Regions from separate parts of the Homo sapiens genome. Here regions 1 and 2 are each linked to region 3. Evidence: promoter capture Hi-C in 16 types of primary human blood cells and fetal thymus (Javierre and others, 2016). All regions are on one chromosome and are shown on one strand. Each heading gives the region's core, a stretch centred on a gene start or on the middle of the fragment in contact. The rest is flanking DNA. Distances are from core to core; before and after follow the strand shown.

Region 1 (3,157 bases), core at 291-2,790, 640 kb before region 3:
CTTTTTTCTTACAATAGGAATGTATGTTTACTGAAGAAAATTCAGGAAATAGAGATAAGCAAAAAGTAGAAAATTTAGATCGACTAGAATCCCATCTCTTAGGGAAAAACATAGTTGGTGTTTTCTTGTTTTTTGCATCTTATTTCCTGCATATGTATATGTGTTTGTGTGTTTGTGTAAGAAACACATTTTTCAAAGAACCAAAATGGGCTCATCCCACACCTACTGGTTTTCCCTTTACCGTACAATCTAAAGCTAGCTCTACATCAATAGCAGGAGCCAGGGGGCTTGTGAGAAGAGCAGAATGTCAGGCCCGAACCGGAATCTGCATTTTCGTAAGCCCCCTAGAGGATTCCTGTGCCCCACACACTCTGGGGAGCATCGCCATTTTTAATGGCCACAGAGTCTCCCAAACAGGGCTAGACCGTGATTCACTCATTGCATCTCTCGGTGGTGAGGATTTTCCCTGTAACAAGAAGCTGGTCCCTCTGGGATCTCTGGGCTCTTCAGACCCTCCCCCTCAGTCCGTGCCCAGGAGACTCCAACAGCTGGGCAGGCGGCGTCCTTGCCCGTCCTCCACGGGCGAGATGCGCTGTCCACCTCCGCCCTCCTCTTGCTCCACCTGGCCAGAGGCCTGGGCTGCGCGCTCCCCGCGCTCCTGCGCAGGCTCTACTGGGAGCCCCTCCAGGGCGCAGTCCGGACCTGACGGGCAAGCCCTGACCTGCCTTTCATCCCGCTGATGCTCGCGCCCAGCTCCCTGTGAATACCCACTGATTGCCCCCGGAGTCTCCCCGTTAGGCCCTCCCGCACCTCTTACCCCTTCCTCCCCTTCCTGGCCTCCCCAGCTCCCTCACCCGCCTTCTAGAAGCATCCTCCCCCTTCTCACCCACCTCTCTACTCCTCCCTTCCCGACTTCCTCAATTCCCACCTCCCCCCCAAATTCCAGTCCTCTCCCTGGGAAAGAGAAAGCGGCCGGGGTCCCACCCTGGCTGTGTGTGGCCCGCGGTGGGGTGGGGCAGCCTGCCAGCCGCCAGGTAGCGCGAATGGAGCGCGGGGCGCCGCGCGCTGCGGGCGGGTGAAGCCGGAATCGGGGCGGCGGCTCGGCCCCCGGCCCCCGGCCCCGGGGAGCCCAGAGCGACTAGTCGGGCAGGAAAAGAATGACGGTGACGTGACCACTCTGACCCCGAGGACTCTCTGGGCTCTGGCGGGCGCTGGGCTCGGCGGATCTGAGTGCGTAGGAAGGGCGATGGGCGCTCAGTCCCCGAGGATCACCTGCGGGACCCTTTGGGGGCACCTGCCGGAGCAGCTGGCCCTGCGACGGGTCCCACCGCGCCCTCAGCAGCAAGGCGGTTCTCCCTTTATAGAGGTTTTACGTGCGTTTGTGGGGGGTGTTCTCAAAACAATACAAATAAGCTTCCATTGTCACCGATCAAAATAGTAAGGGCTTTTTAAAAGGAAACTGTTTAGGGCTGACAGAGCTACAGAGGAAGTGGAGTGATCCGGGCACAGTCAGGGACGGGGGAGGGGGGCGGAACTGGTCTAGCTGTTTTGGCAAAATGTAATAATACAGAGTTAGAGTCTTTGAATGCTCACACTGTTTGATATTGTGGTTCTAGTAGTGGTCATGCATCAGAAGAAATAATCCCAAATATTCCCCCAAAGCTTTTATGGACACAGACATTCTTTGCACTGAAAAATGAGAAAAAAAATTATCTAAAATTGGAATCAACTAGTTGGGCACTGATAAATACATTATGGTGTATCCACAGTTGTGATATCATTCTGTCATTGATAACATTTCTGAAAAGTTTTCGATAGTATAAGGAAATTTTCTCATTCTGTAAAAGGCACAAGGTGAGTTTGTATACACAAGATAATCACAAGTATATAAACTAAGCATAGTGGAAAGACTGGAAGAAATACATTTTAAATAGGAATGGGTGCTTTTTTTTTCTTTTGAAAAAACTTTTTTATGAACTATTTCAGATACATATCAAGGTATAGAGAAGAACTTACCCATCAATAATCATGGGGAATGGAGCAACCTCACTGCTGAAGCCCCTTAGGGACCCTCTTCACCACCTTCCTCACCCTCATCCCTGAGGTGACTTCTCACTATCTTTATTACATATGAGTGGATTCCTAAACATTATATAAGTATTTCAAACTTGACATATATGACAAAGTATTATGCACACTCCTTTGACTTGCTTTTTTAAGTCAACTTGGTGCTCTGGGGATTCATCCATGTCGACTCATGTTGATGAATCTGGCTCTGGTTCATTCAGTAAATATGACTTAATATTTCTCAAAAACGTAGAGCAGAGCCTGGCACATGGCACTACATATGTTTGTTGTTTTTTAAGAAATAAAAAATCATTTTCACTGCAGTATAGTAGACTTGTTAATATCATACTAAATGTATTGATCCATTCTCCTGCTGTGAAAATTTAGAATGTTTCCATTTTGTTCTTATTACAAACAGTGCCGCGATGAACATTCTGGTCTGTGTCTTCTTGTGCACATGTGAGTTTCTATGGAGTGCACCTAGCATTGGCCACAGACATTGCAAGGGATGCCTAACTTCAGTGCTACAAATTACTGCCCAGTCGTTCTCCAAAGCGATCTTGCCAGCAGCAGATGAGTCATTGTAGTAACACTCCCAGCCCTCAACACTGCCTCTCATCACGTCAGTTCTTTTCCAGTGTAATGGGTGTGGTTACTTCTCATGGTTTAAATTTGCATTTCCCTAATTACCATGGGGTTAGAGGTCAGGCATTTGTTCCTATGTTTATTGGTATTTTTTATACTGTAAAGTCTTGATCATAACTTTTTCCTATTTTTCTATTGGTTGTTGACATTTTCTTGTTGGTTTTTAAGAATTCTTTATAAATTTTGTATCTTAATCTTTCATCAGATGGATGAGTTGCAAATATTGTCATTCACTCCATGGCTTATCTTATAACTATTTGTGATGTCTTTCAAGACACAGAAAATTTACATCTGCACATATTCTAATTTACCTCTTTCTTTAAAGTTTGTACTTTGGTTGACATGGTTAAAGTACCTTTTCCTCTTCCAAGATATAAGTTTCCCTACACTTTCTTCTAAAAGTTTTTAAATTTTGTCGTTTTATATTTGGTCTTACATCTATCTG
Region 2 (3,228 bases), core at 104-2,603, 760 kb after region 3:
TAACATAATATATGTAAAGTAGAATAAGCCTTCAAATTATAAACCAAGGGTCAATTGTAACTAATACTACTGTGTGTGCATTGAAGATTTTATTTTACCCTTGATCTTAACAAAGCCTTTGCTTTGTTATCAAATGGACTTTCAGTGCTTTTACTATCTGTGTTTTATGGTTTCATGTAACATACATATTCCTGGTGTAGCACTTAACTCCTTTTCCACTTTAAATTTGTTTTTGTTTTTTGAGACGGAGTTTCACTCTTGTCACCCAGGCTGGAGTACAGTGGCACGATCTCGGCTTATGGCAACCTCCGCCTCCCGGGTTCAAGTGATTCTCCTGCTTCAGCTTCCCGAGTAGCTGGGATTACAGGCACACACTACCACGCCTGGCTAATTTTTGTATTTTTATTATAGACGGGGTTTCACCATGTTGGCCAGACTGGTCTTGAACTCTTGACCTCAGGTGATCCACCCACCTCAGCCTCCCAAAGTGCTGGGATTACAGGCATGAGCCATTGCGCCCGGCCTTAAATGTTTTTTTTAATCATCAAAAAGAACAACATATCTCAGGTTGTCTAAGTGTTTTTATGTAAAACCAACAAAAAGAACAAATCAGCTTATATTTTTTATCTTGATGACTCCTGCTCCAGAATCGCTAGACTAAGAATTAGGTGGCTACAGATGGTAGAACTAAACAATAAGCAAGAGACAATAATAATGGCCCTTAATTATTAACAAAGTGCCAGAGTCTAGGCTAAGCACTTTATCTATATCTCATTTCATTCTCACAACTTATAGGTGAATGAGTAAACTGAGACTTAAGGGAACTGAATCACTTAAATGTCACCTGGCTAACTGATGGCAGAGCCAGAGCTTGAATTCATGTTGGTCTGACATCAAGGTCTTTGGTCTTCTCCCTACACCAAGTTACCTACAAGAACAATGACACCACACTCTGCCTGAAGGCTCACACCTCATACCAGCATACGCTCACCTTACAGGGAAATGGGTTTATCCAGGATCATGAGACATTAGGGTAGATGAAAGGAGAGCTTTGCAGATAACAAAATAGCCTATCCTTAATAAATCCTCCACTCTCTGGAAGGAGACTGAGGGGCTTTGTAAAACATTAGTCAGTTGCTCATTTTTATGGGATTGCTTAGCTGGGCTGTAAAGATGAAGGCATCAAATAAACTCAAAGTATTTTTAAATTTTTTTGATAATAGAGAAACTTCGCTAACCAACTGTTCTTTCTTGAGTGTATAGCCCCATCTTGTGGTAACTTGCTGCTTCTGCACTTCATATCCATATTTCCTATTGTTCACTTTATTCTGTAGAGCAGCCTGCCAAGAATTTTATTTCTGCTGTTTTTTTTGCTGCTAAAGAAAGGAACTAAGTCAGGATGTTAACAGAAAAGTCCACATAACCCTAGAATTCTTAGTCAAGGAATAATTCAAGTCAGCCTAGAGACCATGTTGACTTTCCTCATGTGTTTCCTTATGACTCAGTAAGTTGGCAAGGTCCTGACTTTAGTCTTAATAAAACATTGAATTGTAGTAAAGGTTTTTGTAATAAAAACTTACTTTGGAGATTTGTGCATGTCATTTATTTTTTATGATTCATTTTTGTGCTGTATAAATTTTGTTTACAATCATCTTAGGTTTTTGCTCCGATCAATAAGTTAAATCATCTTTCTATAATTTGTTTCATTCTATTCTCCATTGCCACATTATCACTTGGTAGGAATTCCTGAGAAGATAAACCACATTAAAGTTACATATGAAATGTCTCAACTCTTAGCTTAGACTGACTGCATTACTAGTTTGCTTAAATGTCGCCACGTTTGTTCATTCATTCATTTGATCAGCATTGATAAGGATTTGCTAAATGCCAGATACTCTTGTAGGAGCTGAGATAAATAAGAGGTCCTATATTAGTTACCCATAGTGATCTGAGAGAAAGAGAGAGAGGGCTGGGAGCGGTGGCTGACACCTGTAATCCCAGCACTTTGGGAGGCCGAGGCAGTCAGGTCACGAGGTCAGGAGTTTGAGACCAACCTGGCCAATATGGTGAAACTCCGTCTCTACTAAAAGTACAAACAAATTAGCTGGGCATGGTGGTGTGCACCTGTAGTCCCAGCTACTCGGGAGGCTGAGGCAGAAGAATCGCTTGATCCCGGGAGACAGAGGTTGCAGTGAGCCGAGATCATGCCACTGCACTCCAGCCTGGGCGACAGAGCGAGACTCCATCTCAAAAAAAAAGAGAGAGAGAGAGACTGACCAAGATGAAAGCCGTCATATTTTTATAACCTAATCACAGAAGAAACATACTATCGCATGTCTGTTTATGGTTCACACAAACCATCTCTGGTACACTGTGGAAGGGGACTACACAAGGGCTCGAATATCAGATTTTAGTCCATTCTGTGCCATTATCACAGAATACCACAGATTTTTTGATAACTTACAAGCAATAGAAGTTGATTTGGTCATGGTTCTGGAGCCTGGGAAGTCCAAGATGGAAGGGCCAAATCTGATGTGCATCTTCTTGCTGCCTTGTAACATGGTAAAAGGCATCACATGGTGCGAGGACACAGAAGAGAGAGCAAGAGGGGGCCCCACACTTGTAATAATAGCATTAATCCATCCACGAGGGCAGAGCCATCATGACCCCACTGCCTCTTAAAGGTCCCGCTTCTCAACACTGTTGCATTGTAGATTAAGTTTCCAACATATGGTTTGGGGGACACCTTCCAACCACAGCGCCGGGAGAGGGAGGAACCCCTGGAGGCAGCGTGGATGCTGCCTACCTCAGGTGCCTACTGTCAAGGTGAACATTGTGGAATTCGTGGTTTACTTTTTGGAGGGAACTTCAGTAAATAAATTCCAGTATATATACTAAGATAAGTGGATTAATAGGAACATATACAAGGGATGATGAGAGCAAGGCCCTTTCCAGCCTGCTTCCAACCCTGCCCCAGGTGTAGCACCTCCTCAGGAGCACAGCCTCCCAATCCCTGGTGATGAAGGTCCATTGACCACAGGGTCTGGTGTTGACCCATTGGTCTACAGCACTGACGTCACGGCTTCACCTTCCTAAAAGAAAGTAGCCAGGATGGCTCCAGCCCCTACCCAATCTGCCCCACCTTTGTTCTTCTCACACTTTTCTTGCTTTGTAAGGTCCTAGATCCCCCCTCTGGACTCCTGTTTGGGGCTCTAAGCTTGAAGGCCA
Region 3 (3,580 bases), core at 399-2,898:
GGCCCCTCTCTGGGTTGTGTGGAAAAGGCGTGAATTTATTTTAGTTTTTCAAACAAGTCGTGCGCTGGGAGACATCACAAATGCTATTCTTTCTGAGGAACACTTCAATCCTCTTCTCTTGGTGACCTCTATCAGTTTCTCTGGGAAGCCTTCTCCCTGAGCCTCCCATGCCCCTTCCTTCAATTGGGCTATATCCCCCCTCTCTAGACTCCTACAGAGCCTTCTCCCCCAATACAATAGAATCTTTGTGAGGTCAGATATAGTGTCTTCTCAATTGTATCCCCAGGTTTAACATATCACCTGACACACTGTAGGTGCTTAATAAGAGCTTATGGAATGAATGAAGTGCTATTGCAGAGATAAGCATAAAGCGGTATGTGAGTACAAAGGAAGGGAATCTAAATTGGAGTGGAGGTCTGGGAAAGGCCTCCTGGAAGAGGTGACACTTGAGGCTGACCTGAAGGACAAGTCGGTTAGATGTTTCAAGTGGTGAGAACGGTAGCATGAATGCTCAGCAGTGGGAACGCGGATGGTGCCTTTGAGTAATGGCCAATGACTGTATGGCTGCAGCTAGGGTCGGGGGGAATGGAATGGCAGGGAATCAAGCTAACTGACAGGTAGTTGAGGGATGGATTATGAAAAAGTGAAAGCCCGCTTTTCATTTCAGGCTTGGATTTTGTGTTTATTTACTTATTTATTTATGAGAAAGGGTCTCACTCTGTTGCCCAGGCTGGCACGATATCGGCTCACTGCAACCTCCCGAGTTCAAGTGATTCTCCCACCTCAGCCTCTCGAGTAGCTGGGATTACAGGTTTGCGCCACCACGCCCAGCTAATTTTTGTATTTGTATTTGTAATTTTTTTGAGACGGATCTCGCTCTGTCACCTAGGCTGGAGTGCAGTGGTCCAATCTCGGCTCACTGCAACCTCCGCCTCCCAGGTTCAAGCAATACTCCTGCCTCAGCCAACTGAGTAGCTGGGATTACAGGCCCCTGCCACCATGCCCGGCTAATTTTTGTATTTTTAGTAGAGACGGGGTTTCACCATGTTGGCCGGGCTGGTATCGAACTCCTGACCTCAGGTGATCCGCCGGCCTCGGCCTCCCAAAGTGCTGGGATTAAAGGGGTGAGCCACCCCGCCCGATAGGCTTGGACTTTGTTAAAGGCATACAGAATAACACGAAGTGGTGAGATGCAGAAAAAAGTAGTAATTTAAGAAAACTTGGCTTGCCACGTTGGTTCCTCTAGGGACCAGCCCTGCAACTCCGGGCAAGTCCTATCCCCTCTGACCAGAGGCAAAGTGAAACAGTGATGACATCTACCTCTAGCAGTGCTGTGACGATTAAATGCGATCTTAGGCAAAGCGCCTGGTATGTGCCGTTACTCGAAAAAATGACAGTTGTCCCTCTTCGCTCTGGCCCCATCCTCCTCATCTGCAAATGCCGGGAGGCCGGGCCACTCTCGCAGGTCGCTCCCGGAGCCAGCTGAGCAGTGGGAGGGGAAGCGGTGGGACAGAAGGGCGCCAGCCAGTCGTCCGGGCACCGTGGCTGGTTCGGCTGCCGCTCAGCCGCGCGGGGGCGCTCTAGACTGCTCCTCGTGCTCTATGGTGTTGCCTTCGCCCCGGAAGTAGTTGCGCAGCTGGGGTTGGTAAGGTCGGGCCATGGTGGGGCAGAGGTTGGGAAGATGGCGTGGCGAGGCTGGGCGCAGAGAGGCTGGGGCTGCGGCCAGGCGTGGGGTGCGTCGGTGGGCGGCCGCAGCTGCGAGGAGCTCACTGCGGTCCTAACCCCGCCGCAGCTCCTCGGACGCAGGTAATAGCCGCCGCGCTCTGGTCTTCTCGCCTCTTGGTCCCTGAGCTCTGGCCGTGTATCCTCGGGGGCGGAGGCCGTCTGGGCCTCTTGTGCTGGCCCCAGCTCACCCCCTTCACCTTACCTGCCCCTTCTCTCTCCTCTCTCGCCTCCGTCCAGTCCTCGCTTCTCGCTCCCCTTGCCCAGCCCAGCCCCCCGCGAGCCTGCGCTTTCTCCTTTCCCATTGGGAAGGACGTGACTGGAAGGGGAACTAAGCTGAGGGTTCATTGCGTGCCACACTTCATAATCGCGAGTGGAAACTGTTGAGCCAGTTTCTGAAGTGAAGAAGTTAGTACAGCTGGCAGAATGGCGGTTTTTATTCTTTTTCCATCTAATTATAAAGGTTGTGTTCCATTACAACCAGTCGCCTTCTTTAGCTTGTGATCTAAGGGAGGACGAAGTCTGATGGAAGGTATCACTTTGTGTCTGGCAAAGTCGTAGGAGAGGCTTTATTGTTGAATTGAGACAGTGGAAGATTTCGTTTCCGGTTGATTTGGAAAGAAAACTGCCGAACCTTCCGAGTAGAAGTGTGAAGCGTATGGTTGATCAGTATTGCTGATTTTTGCATCACAGTAATTCATTTCTAATTTGAGAGAGAAGAGAGAAATTCCTCACCTGTTTAAGAATCTGATGTGCATTTGGCTTTGAAAATTTTCCTCCTCTTTTGTTCAAAACTTCATTCCTTCCAATTTCTGACTTGGTTAGATGGGTGCCTCGAATCCACCTGATTGCTGATAAGAAACATTGTTTATCAACACGTGGGATAGTCAGTGGTAAATAATCGAGGCTCTAATGTGGCGGAGCCATTGCCTAATCTCAAGGATCACCTGAAGAGTTTGTATGGATTTTATGTCCCAGGCCTCACCCCAGTCCTCCCAAATCACAATCAGGAGAGGGGTGGGTGGAGTGGAAGAACCTATATGTCCGACAAGCATTCCAGGTGAATTTTATCAGGGACTTGTGAAAACTTTACATACATTGTATCTTCATACACTAACATAGATCTGTCAGGCACTAATCTTAAACTCCTGGGGAGGTGGAAAATGAGGACAGATGGAGGTGGTAATCCCATTTGAGATTGCATGGTTTAAGGGGGAAAGAAAAGATTAATACTGGCCGGGCGTGGTGGCTCACACGCCTGTAATCCTAGCACTTTGGGAGGCTGAGGCAGGTGGATCACCTGAAGTTAGGAGTTCAAGACCAGCCTGGCCAACATTGCAAAACCCCGTCTCTACTAAAAATACAAGAAATTAGCGGGGCATGGTGGCGGGCGCCTGTAATCCCAGCTACTCGGGAGCCTGAGGCAGGAGAATGGCTTGAACCTGGGAGGCGGAGGTTGCAGTGAGCCGAGATCGTGCCATTGCACTTCATCTTGAGCAACAGAGTGAGACTCCATGTAAAATAAATAAATACTGTACGTGTATTAGGAAGCAACAGGAAGTGTGTTAAACATTTAAGATTTATGTACACATCACCGTATTGGTTTTAGGAAGGGGAAGCAAAAGAAAACTAATGAGCCTCTAGTAAAAATTGAGTATAAAGACCATTTGAAACAGTGAACCAGAAACACATGAAATGTTGAAGATTAGTATTTAATGTCTGAAAAGCTTGCCATTTGTATAGAAAGTTTGAAAATGACATTTTCGTGGTTGCATAAAAAATATACATGAGAATGTAGGCCTGAAATAGAGCATTTGCCTCTGGTAATAAGTTCTTAAAGTTAATAGTATCAGTTTAC

The links. The method cuts DNA at HindIII sites, captures the fragments that hold promoters and counts their contacts. A CHiCAGO score of 5 or more calls a contact.
Region 1: a contact is called between a fragment that was not itself captured here and the fragment with the promoter of PARL in region 3, in 3 of 17 cell types (naive B cells, total B cells and total CD8 T cells). The highest score is 7.6, in naive B cells.
Region 2: a fragment that was not itself captured here is called in contact with the fragment with the promoter of PARL in region 3 in 1 of 17 cell types (fetal thymus); the score reaches 6.8 in fetal thymus.

Annotation. Positions count from the first base shown.
Region 1 is chr3:184,523,519-184,526,675 of GRCh38, reverse strand. The region is part of intron 6 of LINC01839 (long intergenic non-protein coding RNA 1839); the gene reads right to left. Among named protein-coding and RNA genes, the nearest start is that of LINC01840, 32 kb to the left of the region's middle. RefSeq lists enhancers at 73-875, 876-1,680. The HindIII fragment of the contact is 249 bases long and covers 1,416-1,664 here.
Region 2 is chr3:183,120,573-183,123,800 of GRCh38, reverse strand. LAMP3 (lysosomal associated membrane protein 3) reads left to right here. Exons shown (of 6, transcript NM_014398.4): 6 at 1-1,586. Among named protein-coding and RNA genes, the nearest start is that of MCCC1, 23 kb to the right of the region's middle. The HindIII fragment of the contact is 3,732 bases long and covers 1-3,219 here.
Region 3 is chr3:183,882,948-183,886,527 of GRCh38, reverse strand. It overlaps PARL (presenilin associated rhomboid like), which reads left to right and starts at 1,648. Exons shown (of 10, transcript NM_018622.7): 1 at 1,648-1,806. The coding sequence starts at 1,682. RefSeq lists enhancers at 1,199-1,428, 1,469-1,518 and silencers at 1,468-1,618, 1,729-1,888. The HindIII fragment of the contact is 9,960 bases long and covers 1-3,451 here.